7 separate regions of the Homo sapiens genome follow, and all the other regions are linked to region 1. The links are contacts of gene promoters, found by promoter capture Hi-C in blood cells and fetal thymus (Javierre and others, 2016). All regions are on one chromosome and are shown on one strand. Each heading gives the region's core, a stretch centred on a gene start or on the middle of the fragment in contact. The rest is flanking DNA. Distances are from core to core; before and after follow the strand shown.

Region 1 (2,875 bases), core at 160-2,659:
GTGCTGTCAGAGAACCCTTATTAGATTTCCCCATTCTCATGTCTTTTTGCTGGATTATTGATCCTGATTCCTGTGCTCTTCCCAAGTACTCTGTATTCTACTCCCAAGTAGCCGGGACTACAGGCACCCGCCACCACGCCCAGCTAATTTTTTGTATTTTCAGCAGAGACGGGGTTTCACTGTCTTAGCCAGGATGGTCTCGATCTCTTGACCTCGTGATCCGCCCACCTCGGCCTCTCAAAGTGCCGGGATTACAGGCTTGAGCCGCTGCGCCCGGCCGGAATTCCGAAGTTTTATTTTCAAAAGTATAACAGGAATTTTACTCAAATTCAACCACAAGTTGTCCACTTCTAAACAAATAGTCCCCTACACAAATAGCGATCCTGGAGTTTATAACAAGTAAGACCTCCCAGGATTTTGAAATTGGTACTCTTTTTGCTCCCAGAACAGAAAGGGAAAGTAAAAAAACAGTAACCACCCACTTCAGAGATCAGGGTTATCATTAAATGTACACTAAGCTCCTATTGAGTGCAGAGCATTAGGCCAATTTGAGATTTTTCAATAGAAGAATAAAGATATTATAAATGTAAACTTCCTTAAAGCCCTAGACAGAGTTCCTCAAAACACCGCAAAAGGACACCAAATGCCTGTAAGCTGAGTTGAAGGAAAGCATACGTACCATCTGAAGCAGAAACTCGCCACGCAACCATAAGACAGCACGCACACCAAAAAAACATCTGGTGATCAAAGTCCTCTCCCCAGGCTGGAATTCACCCAGCTCAGACACCTGGTTTGAAAAAAAATAGATCTTCTAACACTGCTTAAGACCAACCTAACCACCTCCTCTCTAGAGAAGAGGTTATATTGATTTACCCTCCCTGGAGAAAATGAAAAGAAAAAATCTTACGACAGGAAATCAGAACAGCTGTAAGGAAGCTGGTATAGGGAGGAACTGCAAAAATACAAAGGGATGGTAAAAGAGTTGCCAGGTTTAAAACTCAGTTTCAGAAATTTCCTGGTTTCTGGGAATGCAAATCCAGTTGACCAGTCTTTTTGAAACGCAGGCTTATCCTTCCCCAACAAACATGGGCCAAATGGTCTTGCCATGACCTTGACTTCTGTCAATAGTTGCCAATGTTTACAGTCCAACTTCTGTAACTCTGGCCAGCACTGGGGAAAGAGAACGGGCTGTCAATCCCTGGTTCTTGCCCAGGTAGAACACAATTTTGAATGCTACCTCATCCTCCTTTCCTGAATACCAGATATCCTAAGGCTGTAAGCAGCACTGAAGACGAAAGCTCAAGGAAGTAAACTAACCTTACCTGTCTCTGTCCCTCCAGAGTTAGGGCTTCCCAGCAAGGAACTGGTCTTAACTGACTCCAAAGCTGAGAGCTCCAAAGTCCTGCAGTGACACATTGTTCTCGCTTGCCAGGCCTGTACCCAGGCTTCCTACTTTGTGGCTCTTCCAGGGACAGGATTTGGCCTGAGTCCAGAGTTAACCAAATGAGTAAAGAGAGAGGTGAGGAGAATGCTTTGGTCTCAGGAATTAAGGCATGTAAAATTGTTTTGAGGGATCCCATATCATCTTGCTTGTGACTACTATAACCCTTGGTTGGTTCTCTGTGCTGTAATTATGAAACTGGGGAAAAATTCCTACAAAATTTCAGGTTTTAATAGAATAATAAAGCATTAAGGACACAGTAAGGTTGCAAATGTTCTTCTCTTCTCCATCCATTACTACTGTTTGTGATGATTAATCTATGTCTTTCTCCTGAAAGGAATCAGGATATGCCACCCCCAAATATTTGGCGTTAAGATTCTTTTAAGCTGAAGATATTTGAGATTCAGTGATATGGAAAGGAACAGAGATTTTGGGGGCTTTCCTTATCTGACTAAAGGCAGCAACCTTGGAGATAAGGTTGCCATAAATTCCTTTTCAGGGTAGGTCTATCCTGGAGGGGAGAGCATGAGTAAAACATATTTCAAATTCCTTCTCCAGAGAAATTTCATGGCCTTGAAGGAGACAGAAAGAACACTCGTACTTATATACACAAACATTATCACAAAACTTTCTAATTTCCTACTTTTCCCCTGAAAACCCACTTGCCTTTCCAAAAAATAATCTGTTTTCTTTTTTGTTTGAGATGGTGTCTTGGCATGATCTTGGCTCACTGCAACCTCCACCTGCCAGGTTCAGGCCATTCTTGTGCCTCAGTCTCCCGAGTAGCTGAGATTACAGGCATGCGCTACCACGCCTGGCTAATTTTTGTATTTTTAGTAGAGATGGGGTTTCACCATGTTGGCCAAACTGGTCTTGAACTCCTGACCTCAAATGATCCACCCGCCTTGGCCTCCCAAAGTGCTGGGATTATAGGCATGAGCCACCGCACCCGGCCAATAATCTGTTTTCTTGTAAGTGCCTTTCTTCTCCCCACCTTCACCTATTAAGATGATGTATAAGCCCCAATTCTAACCAACTTTTTGAATTACTTATCACTGAGTTTTCCCACATGTACTCAAGTTACATGTATAAATAGAATTTTCTCTCCTGTTAATCTGTCTTAGTCTAATTTGCAGGTCCCAGCCACTGAATACAATATGGTAGAGGAAAGGTGTTTTTTTCCTCCCCTTTATTCCCACAGGAAACTGCTAACTCCAGGACAGGGTTTGTGTCTGATTTGTATTTGTATTCCCTTCCACGGTGCTTCATATTGCAAAGCAGTTGTCTGTTAAATGAATGAAAGTAATGCAGAAATAAATGAAAAAAACTGTCATCCAGAAACTCTACCACAGCCCCCAAAATCCATATGATCACTTGCCATTTATCACATGCTGCCTTATGATTTTTTATGTCTTATCTTTTCTTAACTAATAT
Region 2 (2,875 bases), core at 181-2,680, 480 kb before region 1:
CTGGATTTCTTAGACAGCAAGAATCTCTATATAAGTTATGTTCTTCCAAAATTTTACTCTAAAAATCACTGTAAGATGTCCAAGTATATTTCTAACAACATAAACATTTTAGTAAAATTTCATGATTTTCTAAAGAAACACGTTTTCCAATCATTAGAATCAAGAATTGAAGCAAAGTTCTATCTTCCATTGGGGAAATTATACATGGGTAGACTAGGAGAAATCAGTAGTCTACTGATTATTGAACATATGAGGCTCATTTTAAAAAAATGACTTATTATTTATGAATCTCTCAGCATAAATTATTTAGGTACATGTTTTGAGAATTTAAGGAGTCTCAAACTGCTCACCCTGTCTAATGTTGCTCCCCATTTTTGCCTCATTCCTCAGTGCTTTGCTCTATTGTCTCATAGCATTGAATTTATTTTTTTTCTTGTCCCTCTCCCCACCTAAGTAGAAACAACATGGGGACAGGGAATTCATCCATCTTGTTCATTGATATAACTCCAGTGGCTAGATGAACATCAGGCACAAAGTATGTGATCAATAAATATTGATTAAATAAAGCCATGTTCAATATTTGTGTATTATCATATATATATAAATTGTAGACTGACTGCACTTTGATGGGAGAACAAAATGAAAAAGAAAGAAGGGAGGAAGGAAAGAAGAAAGGGGAGAAGGAGAGAAGAAGGGAAGAAAGAACTGAAGGATGGAAGGAAGAGAAAAAAGAAAGAAAAAACTAGAGAAAGAAAGAAAATTGTTAAAGCTTCACATTATCTAATCTCTCCTGACCTAGGAGCACAAGACCAAAGGATTTATCGCACTAGAACAGAGAATGCAGAAGGACAGAGACAGATCAGATGGTTGCAAAGACAGGTGATGTACATATTGATTCACAACCAAACATTATTAAAATAAACTATTTTTAAATCGATAATTAAGACTAGAATATTGAAGAATCACATTGAGGGAGGCCATAGGACAAATAGTGAACAGATGAAGGGGAGAGATTGGCCTGAAATGTTGCTCCTATTACTCACGTTCACACACTGGAACACTGCTATTCCAAAGGCTTTCCATTCCAGCCAAGACACAATAACTAGCAGAGCTGCCTTTTAATTGAAATCTAAAGAAGAAAATAGGAGTGAATAGTGAGCTGTTTCAGCCAAGAGGACACTTAGTTCACAATCTAAGGCCCAGCCCCAATTTCAGGATTTTGAGGATCTGAGGCCAGCAGATGGCAGAGTTGCACAGGCTACCTTATTCTGGAAAAATCACAGCCTCCAGAAGGGAACAATATAGAATGGCAAAATGTAGTAGCTTGGTCACATGATAGTCCTGCTTGAATTGAAAAAGGTGGTCATGACATAGGCGCCATCCCCTTGACCCAGGACCCAGGCTTGGAGTTTCACTGATTACTCCATGATAACCTGATAAATCACTCATTGTTGTTATTAGAAACCCAGTCTTCTAATGTAATGCCTTCCTAACTCTGACCCTGGAACAGCAAGTAAAACAGCTCCCAGTTTGGAGTGGAAAAGTGGGAAATAGCTGGCGAGAGAACAGAGATTGTCCTTTCATCTCCACATCTGTGATGGCGTGAAGAAGGCTCAAAAGGGCAGTTTGGGCTGCTGAAGAGTAAGCATGAATATTCTAGGGGAAAAAGGAAAGAAGAGAGGACATGATTTTTGTATGCAATTGTCGAAAATTCTCAGTCTTTTGGACCCTGATGCCCTCCTAACTCTTACTGGGTGCTGGCATTTGGAGGCTGCCAAGATTCTGTGTTACATTATGGGATCAGGTGCTTTGTTGCCCATGCCGGTCAGCTCCTGTGTAGAGATGTGCACGCTGTGAAGAGCACTAGATGGACATAAACAAGGTAATGACCTTGCTGGGAATATTAACAGCAGCCATCACGACCCCAGCTCAGAGCCCAGAGCCCATGACTAGCCAGAAGATATATGACTGAATTTTTAAAAAAATGCTGATTTTTACATTTTCAGTCCTATTACAAATTTCACTGTTGATGGTTTAAAGAATTTACTGAAATGATTCTTAAAGGATCCTAGCTTTTAATAATAAGCTTTTCATTACTTGCAATTTTTCCTGGGACTCTCTAAATTACTCATATTCCCTTTTGCTTGTAAAATATGATTTTTTTCCTGAGATGGAGTTTCACTCATTGTTCACGCTGGAGTGCAATGGTGCCATCTCGGCTCACTGCAAACTCCACCTCCCAGGTTCAAGTGATTCTGGTGCCTCAGCCTCCGGAGTAGCTGGGATTACAGGCACATGCCACCAAACCCAGCTAACTTTTGTATTTTTAGTAGAGACAGGGTTTCACCATGTTGTCCAGGCTGGTCTCCAACTCCTGACCTCAGGTGATCTGCCTGCCTCAACCTCCCAAAGGTGCTGGGATTACACACGTGAGCCACCGTGCCTGGCTGATATTTTTTGCTTAATGTGTTACCTATATATTCATAACCACTAGTTATACTTGCCTTTGAACTTGCCAGTTAATATATGTTCCAGTTTCCTCTTCATATCTCATGTTATTAGTTCTATATGTTTCTTTCCTTTCTTCCTAGGTATACTTTCGAAAGTTCATCTCTCTGAAGGTGTGTGTGTGTGTGTGTGTCTTTCTTTTAAGCCACACCAAATCTCCCCTTTTTAGACTGATTCCCAACCCCAATTTCAATGTCCAGCAGGTCAGGCAAGCTCATACTCACCCTTCATCACAAACAAAATCCACTTTTGCTCCAAGCTGGAGATTTACTGGAAATAGCACACGGCCATTAAGAAGTTGGCCCATGAAGTCATCACAGGATTTCACTGGAGATAAAGAAAAACGAACAGAAATCACTGGCATGTG
Region 3 (2,875 bases), core at 158-2,657, 430 kb before region 1:
AAAGTATCTAGAGTAAGTTTTGATTTCATGACTGAATGCTGATGAGCAAAGCCAAGGCTCTGGAGTGAGGTGGACTTGCAATCCAGTTTTGTCTGCAAGTTACTGTCTCAGAATGTTATCTGATGTGTCTAAGGCACATATTCTCTATAAAACATAGAGGCCGGGCACGGTGGCTCATGCCTATAATCCCAGCACTTTGGGAGGCCAAGGTGGGTGAATTGCTTGAGCTGAGGAGTTCGAGACCAGCCTGGGCAACATGGTGAGACTCTATCCCTACAAAAAATATATAAAAAACTTATCCAGGCATGGTGGCATGCACCTATATTCCCAGCTACTTGGGAGGCTCAGGCAGGAGACTTGCTTGAGCCAGAGAGGCGGAGGTTGAAGTAAGTCATGATGGCACCACAGCAGTTCAACGTGAGTGACAGATCAAGACAGTATCTCAAGCAAAACAATACAGACAAACATAGAACAACTGGTAACTACCTAATAACTTTGTTTTAAGGATTAAAATTCACATGTAGCCTGTATTATAGTGCCCGGCCAGAGGAATCACTCATTTTGTATCAACCATTATTATACTCAAAGGTAATTGATAGATCTGTTTATAAGAACCCCAAAGAAACATCATATCCCTTGCCCAGGTTGAGCTTTGCTTCGCAATTTCAGCACATGTGCATGTACACACACCTTCTGAATTTCATGTTCACTACCTAGAAAATTTGCTCCTCGACCCTGCTCAGCACACATCCCTCCCCCTGAACAAATACTAATCTCCTGATCCAACAGCAACGCATGTCACTGGCAGGGCCCTTCTAGGCCTCAGTCAGACTCACCCCTGGAGCAGCTTGGTAGCTCCGGCTCCCATTTGTTCAGGGCCTGGCACTTCACACGGCGGGGTCCTTTCATGACAAAGCCAGGCTGACACCTAAACTCCACAACTTCATTTAAGGAAAATAAGCTTCTGTTGTCAGATACCAATATTCCATTTTCCACATTTGGAGGCGTGCATTTGTTAGGTATAATGCACTGAGGGGCGGGGCCGCTCCAGATGCCCACTTGATCGTCATTGCTGGTGCAGTATATGGAGGGCTCACCCACAAGCTCAAACACCTTTCTCCCTCCGCTTCCAGGATTGCAGCGGTAGGTCACCACTGATCCATAGTGAAAATTCTCTCTGTTGGTGCTAATGAAATCTCCATTGGTGATGGTGGGGGGTAGCCCACAAGGAATTCCTGGAAAAAGGAAGAGCAGGATAAATAACAGTCAGTTTAAATAATGAATGACAGAAATCTCATGAGTCACTAAACTATAGCTATTTTTACATTCATTATTTGCTTTTAATCTTTGCTAACACATAGGTACATTTTTATAAAGTTGTAGCTTCAATGGGCATAATATGATGTGTCCTGCCTTTCTTACTGATATGATTTCCTATAGTATTTGCATGCATGTATTAACTCAATCCACATTCTTTTCATTTTAAATAGCTCTTTGATCATAGTGTTATAGTATTTATACAGTTTTCTCCTACTCTTTTCCGTTTGCTTTCTTAATTTCCATTTTTGTTATTAACCAAGGTTAGCTTTTTTAGAAAAATAAAATACAAAAACATTTGCTAAAAGATAAAGTATAAGGGATGAGAGAAAACACAAATATACACAGTAGGAAAAAGAATTTAAACATATTTTTATGTATATGAGAATATTTATAAAACTGTAGACTACAGGGGGTTAAATATTTTGAAAATCTAAATGATATAAATGGAAATACAAATTACCAAAATTCATTCAAAAATATACTTCCAAATGTAATTTCAAGGTTTCACAACATATAAAAGATATGAAGCTTACCAACTCATTTCATCAAATCTAAGTTTGATATCATAAGATGATATCTGTGTAAAAGTGATCATATATTAGTCCACAAAAACCCCTAAATACATTTTAAAGTATAGCAGTAGTACATAGTATACTGTGTTGCTATAAACTAGAACAAAATTTCTTCAACCCAAATCCCAAAACACTTGAAATTAAAACTGAGTGAATTTAATTGGATAAATTTAGAAATGAATGAATTAAAATTAAAAATAAAAATTTTTCAGGCTCTGCTTCTACTAATAGTAATCTCAACAGTTCAAATAAAATATTGCTCCAACCATCCACCCTCAAGAAAGGCTAGAAATACTGGAGAATTAAAAATATTTATCTGTTAAAGCATCAGAAAGCTAACAAACTAGTGAAGCATTCCTGGGCCATGATCTAGGAGAAGATGAGAATCCAGTTGAGAGCTGGGTATTTGGGCTTGGCAACTGGGCTGCTTATTGTTTGGGAATGGGCAGCTGAATCAGGACGGGGCAACTGAGAGGCTGAACAGACTTTTGATTTTCTCATGAAGTTAAGGGACAACAATGGAAGTCCAGGGCCTGCCCCAAATGGAAGGCCTGGTAATACCTTCTGATGTGTTCTGAGGCCACAAGAACTAGGCCCTGGTAATCAGGGTTAACTGAAAATAAATTTGCTGTCTCAGAGACTGGAACTAGTACTTCAAGTACTGGTACTGTGGGTGGCCCTGGAAAATCACAGTTCCTGAGACTGAATTAGAGTGGTCCTAGATTGCTAATGTCCCCAGATGCCTGCAGAAACAATGACAAAAATTCCATCTGGAAGAAGATGGGTTATCTAAGGCCTTGAAATTATTTCTACAGACACAGTTTTCAAATAGAATTCCTGATACACAATCAAAGATAACCAGATATTTGGAGAGATAAAATAACACACACAATTACTGATGACAGAAACTGACCCATTAGAACTACAGACCTGTTCAAGGGTATAATTGAAACTTGTAAGAACTAGAAACTATTAAAAAGAAC
Region 4 (2,875 bases), core at 97-2,596, 380 kb before region 1:
GGGGCCTGGCATTCTAAATGAAAGGACAAAAACAAAACATAACTGCTTAAGTAAACAACCACAGAAAGAAACTGAGCCAAAGAAATTGATATTCATGCTATAATTCCACTCTGGCGTCAGCTGTATGATACAGAACATATGTTGCAGACCAGCTTTGGGTAATTTTAGATCACAGTTTCCCAATCTTTTGTTGTTGTTGTTGTTGTTGTTTTCTGCACAGAGGCTGCTGCAGATGTTGTTCACTTTCCACTGGGTTCTGCAACTCCTCTCCTGCCTCTTCCCTTCATAAGGAATCATCTTGTATGTTTTTTATGGGAGATTCTGATATATCCCTAGGAATGAGGGCTTGAATGACTTCTCTTTTAAGAAGTCACTATTAAGACAAACAAGCATTTTTCTCCTCATTTTTTCCCCTATAGAAATGAGAAACTTAGTGATTCCTAACATTTTTTCCAAGCATATTCCCACAAAATAAAACAATGGTGGGGGGCTAGTGATAAGAATGCCCTCTACAAAATTTATATTGATTAGATGTAGTAGATTTGAGGGAAGTATAAACTGGACAAGGCCCTACCTAAAGCCCACAACCCCTTCTTCTAATTTTTCAGAAACGAATCAGAAGCACCTTTTCTGAGTACCGGAACACTCACCCTTTTCACAGACTGGTGCAGATGGCTCCCATGTGCCTTGGGCATTGCATCGGATTTGCTTGCTGCCCTTCAAGGTGAAGCCAAACATGCAAGCAAATATCACAGTGTCGTTATAGGTATATCGATCTTTCTGCCCAGATACCATTCGGCCTCTTAGGATCTGGGGATGTGGACACTGAACCGCAGAAGTAGAAAGTTCACAGCGTGGGGCAGGGCCACTCCAGGTCCCAGTCTTCTGACTATCAACTGTACAACGGAGAGTGCTCTCTCCAATAAGGATGAAGTTCACTCCTTCCTCTGGGTCCGGGTCACAAGTGTAAGTGACTATGCTTCCATATGAGACATTTGCTAGTGAGTTGCCTATATGTCTTCCATTGAGAATAGGGGGAGGTGATGGGCAAAAAATTTCTAGGGGAATTGCAGAAAGAAATGACAAGATCATAGGTGTATTGAAAACAAAGAATGCCCCAGATGCTGCTTGATACCACTATCCTAGGACAGTGATATCCGAGTCTATAATGAATCAGTCAAGGCAGCTAAAGCAACATAATTTAGAAGATTGATTCTCAAGCTTCATTCCTGAGTATATGTACTCTGCTGATCCTTTGATTTCTTTTACCAAATACACTATTTTCTTTATGCATATGGTCTACCTACTTAGAAGGTCTGCATAGCTTTCAGAGGAGGGAAAGCCTAGGAACCCCATTTTACTTGAGGAAACAAAAAATAAGGATGCTTTGGTGAAGCACATATCCTTAAAGATCTCTAGGAGTTCTGTGTTCAGTAAGAGTCTGTAAGGTAATGACTGAACCAAAAGCTTTTAGTTAAGCTGAGAATGCAGTGCTGTCAGACCATAGTTGCCTAGCCTACCTTCACATACTGGCATTTTGGTCCAAGCAACTCCCTGTCCAGCAATTACACACCGACTAGAAGGTGGGCCTTGCAGTCGATACCTGGAGACAGAAGGTTGTCATTCAGAACTATTAGGCAGTTTGTGCTGAAGAACAGCAGCCTCTACTTACAATTCAAGACAAGTTCATTTCAATCAGTGTGCATCTGTTCCTTTTATCAGCATTACCTCTCACAACCCTACCCCAGACTGCCCAGAGATCCTCACAGAGGAGACTTCTGCAGGTTTCACAGTCCACACCACGCACACACAAGACAAATGAATTAAATCTCATAAATAATCCTGACACTCACCCTTCATCACAGAAAAAGTTTGCAGTTACACCAACCCGGAGAATTGGAGGCTCCTTTACCTTCCCATTGGGAAATCGTCCTAGAGATTTACAGCGTGCCTCTAAAAAACAAACCAAAGATGAGAAATGCATGGCAAATAACAGAACAGCCCAGATTCTTAAAATAGATTGTAAATTTAGGGTACCTTCACATGTGGGGGGGACAGCACTCCATTTTCCCGAAGACAAACAGTTAATGATCTTTTCTCCAACAAGCAAGTAACCAGATTCACAGCTGTAAGTCACAGACAATCCTGGAGCAATGGAGCCAACATTCTCACTTGTGTGATGTCCATTGTGGATCATAGGAAGTGCTGGACACTCGAGAGGGAAAACTTTACACACACATACCAGGAAAAAAAAGCCGTCAGATGATGCATCCTTCACAATCTAGAATCAAGGGGGTCCAATCTTTTGGCTTCCCTGGGCAACATTGGAAGAAGAAAAATTGTCTTGGGCCACACATAATATACGCTAACACTAATGATAGCTGATAAGCTAAAAAAATTGCAAAAAAAAAATCTCATAATGGTTTAAGAAAGTTTATGAATTTCTGTTGGGCCACATTCAAAGCCATCCTGGGCCACATGCTGTCCACGGGTAGCGAGTTGGACAAGCTTGATCGAGATGCTGACTTAGGATATGGATTTAAATAAATGACACATGATCTATGGTAGCCAGTTGGTATTAACTTTCAACCTAGTCTTTTAAAGATCAAACAGGTGTGGTTTAAGTGTATCCATTTTATGCCACAAATAGCCATAAATAGTACCTTATTTTTCATTTTTAGTTACACTATATGAATTACATTTGCCTTGTGAAAAATTTCAATTACCAAAAAAAGTCAATTTTCACCTATATTCTCACCCTATCCTTAAGCTTATTCTCTGTTCCAAAAGTAGCATGCTATCATTTCAAGGGCTATCCTGGTAGATATTGGCAATATAGTTTATTGGGATCCTATGCATGATACATATATACACC
Region 5 (2,875 bases), core at 207-2,706, 360 kb before region 1:
TGACAGGAATACCAGAAAGGATGTCTTATCCTTACGGGGAGGCATATGTTGTCTATTTGTCCTATTACTGGTGGTGGTAACTTTGATCACTTAGTTAAGATGGTGCCTGCCATGTTTCTTAGTGTAGACTCAGTATTTTTCCCTTTGTAATTAATAAGTATTTTATAGGGAGATACTTTAAAACTATGTAAATTCCTCATTTTTTCATCAAATTTTTACCCACAAATTTTAGCGTCTATTGATGATCCTTTCTTGAATCAATTTTTACTATGATGGTTGTCAAAGGGTGTTTTTTCCTAATTTAATAATTACTTCTATATTCATCTGTTGGCATTTTACTGTAAATAAAAGTTTTCCCTTCTCTATTTATTTATTCATTTATCTATATCAGCATAAACTATATCAATATGAATTTTATTTATTTACTCAATGGGTCATAATTCATGGCTACCATTATTTATTTTGATGCTTAAATTCTCCCTGATCGGGCCAGTGGGAGCCCTCAAAATAGTTCCTATGTCATTTTGACTTGTTCTTATTGTTCTTTGAGCACTTCCTTACTTTCTGGCACACACACAAAAAAAAATGCTCCAGACTCACCTCTAGACCTGACACTGGAATTTGCTGTTTCTCCAAGGAATGCTGGTTCTTTCTGGCAGAGAATGGCATTTAGATGCCAGAATTGGATGCTAAGTGTGTTCATTTTTATTGGAGTATCATTGTTTCCGCACCCTCTCAGCAGACAGAGCAAGGATATGTATTATATATATATATGTATATCCATTCCCATATCTATATTTATATATGTCATGAATTCACAGTGATTCTTCCAATTTCAGTCCGTTAGCATAGAGTTCATTCTGTCCTTCCCTCTTTCTGCATGTGTAACTCCCTTCTTCAACAGTGAGACACCTAGATCCACAATATATTTACTTATTTGCTTAATCCTAGAATACACAGAAAGAAGTTTAAAATTGCTATTTCTATACTATGATGGAAATCAAATCTACTCGTTTTTAAAGTTTTATTTTGTTTATAGCCCGAAAATATAAAAACAGCATTGTTGTGTTCCAAAGTTACTCAGATTATTCCCCCTCTTCAGTGTGATTGTTATTCATTCAAAATACTGTTAATTTGTTTCTCTTTGTATTCTATTTTAGTTTCCCCTCAATCTTTTTGATTTTTTTTTGCTTAAATAAAACATTAACGTAGTCCCAAATGTCAGATTGATATAAAAAGACACAATAAAAGGGAAATGTCACTTCTCTCCATCACCTCTATCCTCTCCACCATAGGTACTCAATTTCAGTAGTTTCTGGTTTGTCCTTAGTTTTGCTCAAATGAGCTGCTACACATTTGTCTTCTTAGTTCTCCTTTTTTATTACATTTTAAAAGCATGCTATAGGTATTCTTTTGCACATTTCTTTTTTAACTTAACAAATATGCTGGAATCCACTATTTCCTACAAATTCAAATATTCCTCATTCATTTTTACAGTTGCATGCAATACTTCACTGTGTGGATATGCCATAGTTTATTCAACCATCTCCCTATGTATGGACAGTTTGGTTGTTTTTAATGCTCTAAAGAGTAACTTTGTGAATATTTATTTTTCTGCTGTTAGAAGCATGTCTTCAGTTCAAATTCCTAGAAGTGGGATTGCTGGGTCAAATGGTAAACACATATGTAGGTTTGTTAGATATTGCCAAATTTCCTTAATAAGAGTTGTACCACATATATTCCTACAAAACTGTGTGAGAGCACCTCATTAATCTAATGTGCTGTCATCATGGTTTTAAATTTTAGTCAGTCTAATAAATGAGACATTTTATCTCAGTGTAGCTTTAATTTGCATTCCCTATGAGTAACGCTGAACATTTATAAAATATATTTTTATCATGTATATTTGCCTTTTCCTCTCTCAATGTTTGAGACTTATTTATATATATTAGGATTGTTATTCTGGATGTGTTTTGCAAATGTTTCCTCCCAGTTTGTCAGTTGTCTTTTGACTTTGTTTATGGCATCGTTTTGCCTTGTAAGCATTGTCTGTTTTAATGCAGTCAAGTTGATAAATCTTTTCTTTTATTGCATCTGGATTAGGAGCCATGGTTTTAAAAACCATTCTCCAGGTTACACAATAATTCATCCATGTTTTCTTCTTGCACGTGTATTGTTTCATTTATTTTACAGTTAGATTCATGATTCTTTTCATGCTTATTCTTGTCTGCCCTCATAAATTTCCCAAATATATTTTTATTAATAAACACTTCTCAGCAACACAAAAACTCAACTCCTCTGTAGATGAGTGTGTTGGTGTCTAGTATCTTGCAGTGATCCTGTTTACATGTTTGTCAGGAAAAAAGAAATCACTGCCTTCTGCTCCAAACCCTCCAATAATTTCCTATCTCATTCAAAGTAGAAGGCAATGTCATAACTATGATCCATTCAGTCCAATGTGATCTGCTTTCCTTTAACTTCTCTGAGTTCATCTTTGACCCTTTTCTCCTTCTTTTCTCCCTCTGGCCACAATGGCCTTTGCTGCTCTAGTATTCTTTGCACTCTGACTGGGGTCCTTTGCCCTCGGAGGGTCTTGTTTGCTCTGTCCAGATTGTTTTTCTCCTGAATAGCCCCAGTGGCCAGCTCCCTCATTTCATTCTAGTCTTTACTCGAAGATACCTTCTCAGTGAGATCTTTCCTAGATATCCTCTTACACTTTTACCTCCCTTTCCATTCATATCCCCTTCTTTGGTCTATTTTTCTTCTCTTACTACTTAGCTCCATTGAACACATTATATATTTTACAATGACCTCATTTGTGTTTGTCTCTCTTACAATGTAAGATCCATGAAGGAAATATTTTGTTTTTTTGTCT
Region 6 (2,875 bases), core at 103-2,602, 340 kb before region 1:
TTAGAGACAGAATATGCAAACTTATCCCTATTGGATTTATTTATTTTTGACAGTATAAACGCCAATGCCAGGATTAAAAATTATAAGTGTAATTATACTGACTTTGGAGAGTGAGGTTTAAATTTAACATGATTTCAAGCAGATACTTCCAACAAAATACCCCCTTGGTAACACCCTAGACTTTGTCATGTCCTAATATGGCACCACTTCCAAAATCTCTAATTCAGACATCCTGCTGTCTACATACAATCTCCACTGCATTCAGCTTACCTATTTCAGTGTCAAACTGCTTGACCTTCGTTTGACTTCATGAGAACTTTCTGTCGCCTTTCCCCTTATTCTAATCTATTTGCCCACTCTTTCTTCAGTTCCTTCCTTAATCAGTCAAAAGTCTATACCACAAGTTCAACAGCACTCCTGCCAGTAACAAACTCCTTTGCCTGCTTCCTTATGGCAACTGTTTAGAAAATCCCAAACCTCAATCATTGTTACTTTCTGCTTTCCTTACCTAAGCACTGAGATAGAGCCACATGGCAGGTTGCACTGGTGGATAAATTCAGGATAACTAATTTCAAATAGACTCAACCTTGTGTGGCAACCTTACCATTGTTTTCCTCTTTTTAATTCACTTTATCAATGATTACTTTGTATCTTCTTTATACTCCTCACCCTTCCAACCATAACTGACCCTTTTCTGCCTGTCTTCTCACCTCCTTCTTCACTGAGAAGCCGTCGGAGATCTAGTCTCCCAATTTCCTGCTAGCAACTCTAGGAACCTCCATCTGCATTCATCTTTTCTTTTTTCCATTTTCTCTCTTCTCTTATTGAAGGTCAGTTCTTTCACATGAGGTCTTGGATTCTACTCTTTCCTGATTTTTCAGAAACATTTAACTATCAAACAATTCCACTCTTGCCTGTATTTTCAACTGTGTTCTAACATTGGATCATTCCCCGTGACATTTAAAAGAGCTAAAAAAAATCTCAAAAGACTTTCTTCCCCCAACTTCTAACCCTTTCTCCTCACTTTCAGAGCTAAATTTCTTTTTCTTTCTTTCTTTCCTTCTTTCTCTCTTTCTTTCTTTCTTTCTTTCTTTCTTTCTTTCTTTCTTTCTTTCTTTCTTTCTTTCTTTCTTTTTCTTTTTTAACTTTTTGAGACGGAGTCTTGCTCTGTCACCCAGGCTGGAGTGCAGTGGCTTGATCTCAGTTCACTGAAACCTCCACCTCCTGGATTCAAGTGATTCCCCTGCCTCAGCCTCCCAAGTAGCTGAGATTACAGGCACGCACCACCACACCCGGCTAATTTTTTTGTATTTTAGTAGAGATGGGGTTTCACCATGTTGGCCAAGATGGTCTCAATCTCCTGACCTCGTGATCTCCCCACCTCAGCCTCCCAAAGTGCTGGGATTACAGGTGTGAGCAACTGTGCCCAGCCTCAGCCAAATTTCTTAATGTCTTGAAAGAGTTACAGATGGCCTGTCCTTTTCAACACCTTTTACTAATGTTCAACCTACTTTGATTTAGCCTCTGTCTCTCTCATTATGACTAACGATCACCTTCATATTGCCAAAGCCAATGAACATTTTTCAGTTCTTGGTGGAATTTGACATTAACCACTGTTTTCTTCTTGAAACAATTTGTTCTGCTGTCTTCCCCAGATATCATTATCTGCTGGTTATCTGCTTAGCTCTCTGGTCATTCTTCCTCTCTATATACATATATATCTTTTTTTCCAGTTTATCCTCCTCTGTCTGGTGATTAAATGTTGGAGTTTCTCGAGGCTGAATCCTGGGCTCTTTTCACATTCTATTATATCTCCACAGGCAAATGTATCTATTACGTCTATGACTTGAAAAATTCTAAATTGAGCTCACACCTGTCTTCTAAGCCTAAGACCCTGTATACCTTATTTTGCCTCTCCATGTGGATACTTCAGTATCAATATGTCAAACACCAAACTCAGTCCTCCCTGACAGAGCAGGAGCACCATCATCTTGGACAAACACTGCCACTTTAAGTTCCAGCTCTTTTTCTAGCCTCATGCATTTCAAGGAAATCACTTTTCTTCTAACAACAAGTGCCCAGAAAGAGCAGACAGTAAAATACAGATAAGACAGCTGGGGCACAGAGGGAGGTGGTGGGGAAGTCTCTTGGGTAACTGCCAAACTTCACCCTCATACAATGGGCCCCAGTAAAACAGTGGGCCTTAATAAGCACATTCCTTTCCATTTAAGTGCACTAAGGGAAGCTAAAAGCAGACTTGGGAGGAGGGTGGGTATGCCTGCAGCTGCAGGAAGATGTATGGGAACAGACACAAAGCTCTCCCTCCCAGATAAGTGCAACAAAGAAACACAGAAGGAGTACAAGCCTCTGATAAACTCTTCCACCCTGAATCCTTAAAAACTCTTAGTCTCTAAGAAAGTAGGCTCTAACCTAACTCAGCCAGAAGCCCCTCTCATGTTTGTTTTCTCTAAAATAAACCCGTCCTTAACTGTCAAGCCACCTTTCATGTATCTTTCCTCTTTCTTTAATTCTTACACTCCCTCCAAAGTTATTGGTTCCTGCCAATGTTTCTAATCTCATTGAATAGTACCATCATGCATCCAGTCACCTAATTTACAAATCTCAGGTTCATCCATGATATCTCATGCTTTTCATTCTCCAATATCTAATCCATCTTTGAGATCCATCTATTTTTTGTTCAAAATACCTCTTTATCCATACTTCCCATATCTTCTGCCAGCATATTCCAAGCTACCATCTCTATCTTAAAATAATGCACTTTTCTTTTAATTGATGTCCCTTCAATTTTTGTGCCTCCCATTCATATTCATTTTTGACATCACACAGAGAGTGATATCTTCAAAATGCAAATCTC
Region 7 (2,875 bases), core at 152-2,651, 290 kb before region 1:
AATATATACTAAATATTGGAACAGTACCTAGAAACTTGCTATGCCCTCAGTAGATTTTCATTGAAAAAACAAATGAGCAAAAAAGGGAGGAAATTGAAATAATTATAAAATAACAAATTATTCTTTTTTGTTTTTTTCTTTTTTGAGGTGGAGCCTCTCTCTGTCACCTAAGCTGGAGTGCAGTGGTGTGATCTCGGCTCACTGCAACCTCCGCCTCCCAAGTTCAAGTGATTCTCCTGCCTCAGCCTCCCAAGTAGCAGGGATTACAGGCATGCACCGTCATGCCTGGCTAGTTTTTGTATTTTTAGTAGAGACGAGGTTTAGCATATTGGCCGGGCTGGTCTTGAACTCCTGACCTCAAGTGATCTGCCTGCCTCAGCCTCCCAAAGTACTGTGATTATAGGCACAAATTATTCTTATAAATGAAAAAACGGATTCAAAAGCAATTTTTCTAAGAAAAATAAATTACCAAAACTTACGTAAGAAGTGAAAAAAAATGTGTAACCAGACCATTTATTTTTATTTATTTACTTATTTTTTTTATTTTTTTAAGAGATGGAGTCCCACTCCATCACCCAGAGCTGGAGTACAGTGGCGTGATCTCGGCTCACTGCAAGCTCCATCTCCCCGGTTCAAGCAATTCTCCTGCCTCAGCCTCCTGAGTAGCTGGGACTACAGGCACACCACCATTCCCGGCTAATTTTTTGTATTTTAGTAGAGACAGGGTTTCACCGTGTTGCCCAGGTTGGTCTCGAACTCCTGAGCTTAGGCAATCCACCTGCCTCAACCTTCCAAAGTATTTATTTGTTTTTTAAACTTTTATTTTAGGTTCGGGGTACATGTGCAGGTTTGTCATATAGGTAAATTCATGTCATGGGGGTTTGTTGTACAGGTTATTTTGTCACCCACGTAGTAAGCATAGTACCCAAGTTATTTTTAACAGATCAGTTATTGGTAAAGAAGATCAAAGTGTCAAGTTGTCCTTATTCCTGTTCCTGGAAAAGAAGAATCCTTAGTGGAAATATGTCAACTCTTTTCAAATAAGATATATTTAATTTCAATTTGTCATTATTTTGAATGAGTGAAAACATTTAAGCAAATTAAATCAATAGAATAACCTGTATTGAACACAGAGCCATATAATAATGCCAATGACCTGGAATTTGTTAACTATGAATAATATTTTGAGATGTCCTCCTTTAAATTCACGATATAATTGAAGTAATGTCACATGAACTTAAGGAAGAAAAGTTCTGAATGAGCTAATTGAGCTTCCTTTTTCCTTGGTGCAGGAATAAGATTCCTGTGTAATAAAATAATGGCTTGTAAAAATTTTAAAACTCGATTTGCCTCACTCTTAAAATTGTTTTAACGTGGATATTTATCCAATATGCATATTAACTATCTTTTTAATGATAATTTAAATCATAACACTTCTTTTGCTCATACCTGCTTGTTTCTAACTAGTTTGATTTGATATTATGGTTAGAGTGAGATTTATATGTGACTAGTAAATATGTAGTACTTTGATACTTAGTGAATAAGGTGTATTAATATTGAAAATAAACATCCAACAAATTCTGAATATGTTTCTTAATGTTCCTCTTTTTACTATTATTAATATGAATCTTCTGAATCTCTGAGAAAATAAGATTATATCAATGTGCTACAGCCTGGAACATCACCTGATATAGTAGAAAAGGTCGCCGGGTGCGGTGGCTCATGCCTGTTGAGGCAGGCAGATCACGAGGTCAGGAGTTTAAGACTAGCCTGACCAATATGGTGAAACCACGTCTCTACTAAAAACACAGAAAAAAAAAAAAAATTAGCAAGGCTTGGTGGCATGTGCTTGTAGTCCCAGCTGCTTGGGAGGCTGAGGCAGGAGAATCACTTGAACCCAGGGGGCGGAGGTTGCAGTAAGCTGAGATCACACCACTGCACTTCAGCCTGGGTGACAGAGTGAGACTCCATCTCAAAAAAAAAAAAAAAAAAAAAAAAGTGCAGTAAAAGTCTTAACTGAGAAACATCAGGAAATGCCAGAAAACTCTTAAGTATCCTTTCATATTGAGGAAAAAAATACTGAAAAAGAAAATGGATGCAAATGGCACTTAAATGTTGTATCTTTAAAAGTGGGAACATTCATAGATTCACCAAAACAGGACTAAAATTTTGTAAAACTCATGCTGAAATAAAGAATAGTTATAATCATCAAGAGACATAATTAAAAGCACATATTAAATAAGTTCTACCTTTAAATATTTTAAAGTTTCTGAAACAATCTTTTATCAATGTATTGATGAAATGAATTTTAAAACTGAGAATAAACCATCATAATTTAAACACTATGATTAGTTAAAAATACTAAAGCAATTTCAGAGTAAAATGCTTAATATCACTTCAAAAAATAATAATGATATGTTTTTCATTGTTATCTAGGGTTGTGGACCACTTGTCACAACACATATTCTATTAAAATGAGAAAATAACTTTTATGAAAACTTACAAAGCAAGGGATTATTGTTTTAATCAATTATCAATTATGGCAGCACTATTAATTTAACAAACCATACCATAATCTATTATTTCTTCATCATATATTAAAATCTCTTATAGAACTGAATCTATTTCCAAATTTTATTTGACATAAATATATATTTTATTTACTTACTTTAAATGTAAAATTCCTTGTAATTTAATGATTTGGTAGTGCTAGAATTAATGTAATTAATGTAACATCTGAATTAAAGCAAAATCTATACTTATTTATTGATAAAAATAGTATTGATAGCTGTGCTTGGTGGCTTATGCCTGTAATCAAGCACTTTGGGAGGACGAGGTGGGAGGATCGCTTGAGGCCAGGAGTTCAAGACCAGCC

The links. The method cuts DNA at HindIII sites, captures the fragments that hold promoters and counts their contacts. A CHiCAGO score of 5 or more calls a contact.
Region 2: a fragment that was not itself captured here is called in contact with the fragment with the promoter of C4BPB in region 1 in 4 of 17 cell types (erythroblasts, M2 macrophages, megakaryocytes and 1 more); the score reaches 12.2 in erythroblasts.
Region 3: a contact is called between a fragment that was not itself captured here and the fragment with the promoter of C4BPB in region 1, in 6 of 17 cell types (naive CD4 T cells, naive CD8 T cells, total B cells and 3 more). The highest score is 9.4, in naive CD4 T cells.
Region 4: a contact is called between a fragment that was not itself captured here and the fragment with the promoter of C4BPB in region 1, in 12 of 17 cell types (total B cells, naive CD4 T cells, naive B cells and 9 more). The highest score is 13.5, in total B cells.
Region 5: a contact is called between a fragment that was not itself captured here and the fragment with the promoter of C4BPB in region 1, in 15 of 17 cell types (total CD4 T cells, naive CD8 T cells, M2 macrophages and 12 more). The highest score is 13.3, in total CD4 T cells.
Region 6: a contact is called between a fragment that was not itself captured here and the fragment with the promoter of C4BPB in region 1, in 8 of 17 cell types (naive CD8 T cells, non-activated CD4 T cells, naive CD4 T cells and 5 more). The highest score is 8.7, in naive CD8 T cells.
Region 7: a fragment that was not itself captured here is called in contact with the fragment with the promoter of C4BPB in region 1 in 9 of 17 cell types (monocytes, naive CD8 T cells, naive B cells and 6 more); the score reaches 10.3 in monocytes.

What each region holds. Positions count from the first base shown.
Region 1 is chr1:207,087,394-207,090,268 of GRCh38, reverse strand. It overlaps C4BPB (complement component 4 binding protein beta), which reads right to left and starts at 1,409. Exons shown (of 7, transcript NM_001017365.3): 1 at 1,323-1,409; 2 at 680-787. The coding sequence starts at 737. The HindIII fragment of the contact is 12,500 bases long and covers 1-2,875 here.
Region 2 is chr1:207,564,092-207,566,966 of GRCh38, reverse strand. CR1 (complement C3b/C4b receptor 1 (Knops blood group)) reads right to left here. Exons shown (of 47, transcript NM_000651.6): 23 at 2,733-2,835; 24 at 1,044-1,129. Among named protein-coding and RNA genes, the nearest start is that of CR1, 69 kb to the right of the region's middle. The HindIII fragment of the contact is 1,317 bases long and covers 772-2,088 here.
Region 3 is chr1:207,521,971-207,524,845 of GRCh38, reverse strand. It overlaps CR1 (complement C3b/C4b receptor 1 (Knops blood group)), which reads right to left. Exons shown (of 47, transcript NM_000651.6): 5 at 837-1,235. Among named protein-coding and RNA genes, the nearest start is that of CR1, 27 kb to the right of the region's middle. The HindIII fragment of the contact is 887 bases long and covers 964-1,850 here.
Region 4 is chr1:207,467,878-207,470,752 of GRCh38, reverse strand. It overlaps CR2 (complement C3d receptor 2), which reads right to left. Exons shown (of 20, transcript NM_001006658.3): 3 at 2,038-2,226; 4 at 1,854-1,953; 5 at 1,521-1,603; 6 at 651-1,058; 7 at 1-13. Among named protein-coding and RNA genes, the nearest start is that of CR2, 15 kb to the right of the region's middle. RefSeq lists an enhancer at 277-1,476. The HindIII fragment of the contact is 246 bases long and covers 1,224-1,469 here.
Region 5 is chr1:207,449,900-207,452,774 of GRCh38, reverse strand. No RefSeq gene overlaps it. Among named protein-coding and RNA genes, the nearest start is that of CR2, 3.0 kb to the left of the region's middle. The HindIII fragment of the contact is 3,516 bases long and covers 1-2,875 here.
Region 6 is chr1:207,427,657-207,430,531 of GRCh38, reverse strand. No RefSeq gene overlaps it. Among named protein-coding and RNA genes, the nearest start is that of CR2, 25 kb to the left of the region's middle. The HindIII fragment of the contact is 3,250 bases long and covers 1-2,875 here.
Region 7 is chr1:207,379,651-207,382,525 of GRCh38, reverse strand. No RefSeq gene overlaps it. Among named protein-coding and RNA genes, the nearest start is that of CD55, 59 kb to the right of the region's middle. The HindIII fragment of the contact is 9,153 bases long and covers 1-2,875 here.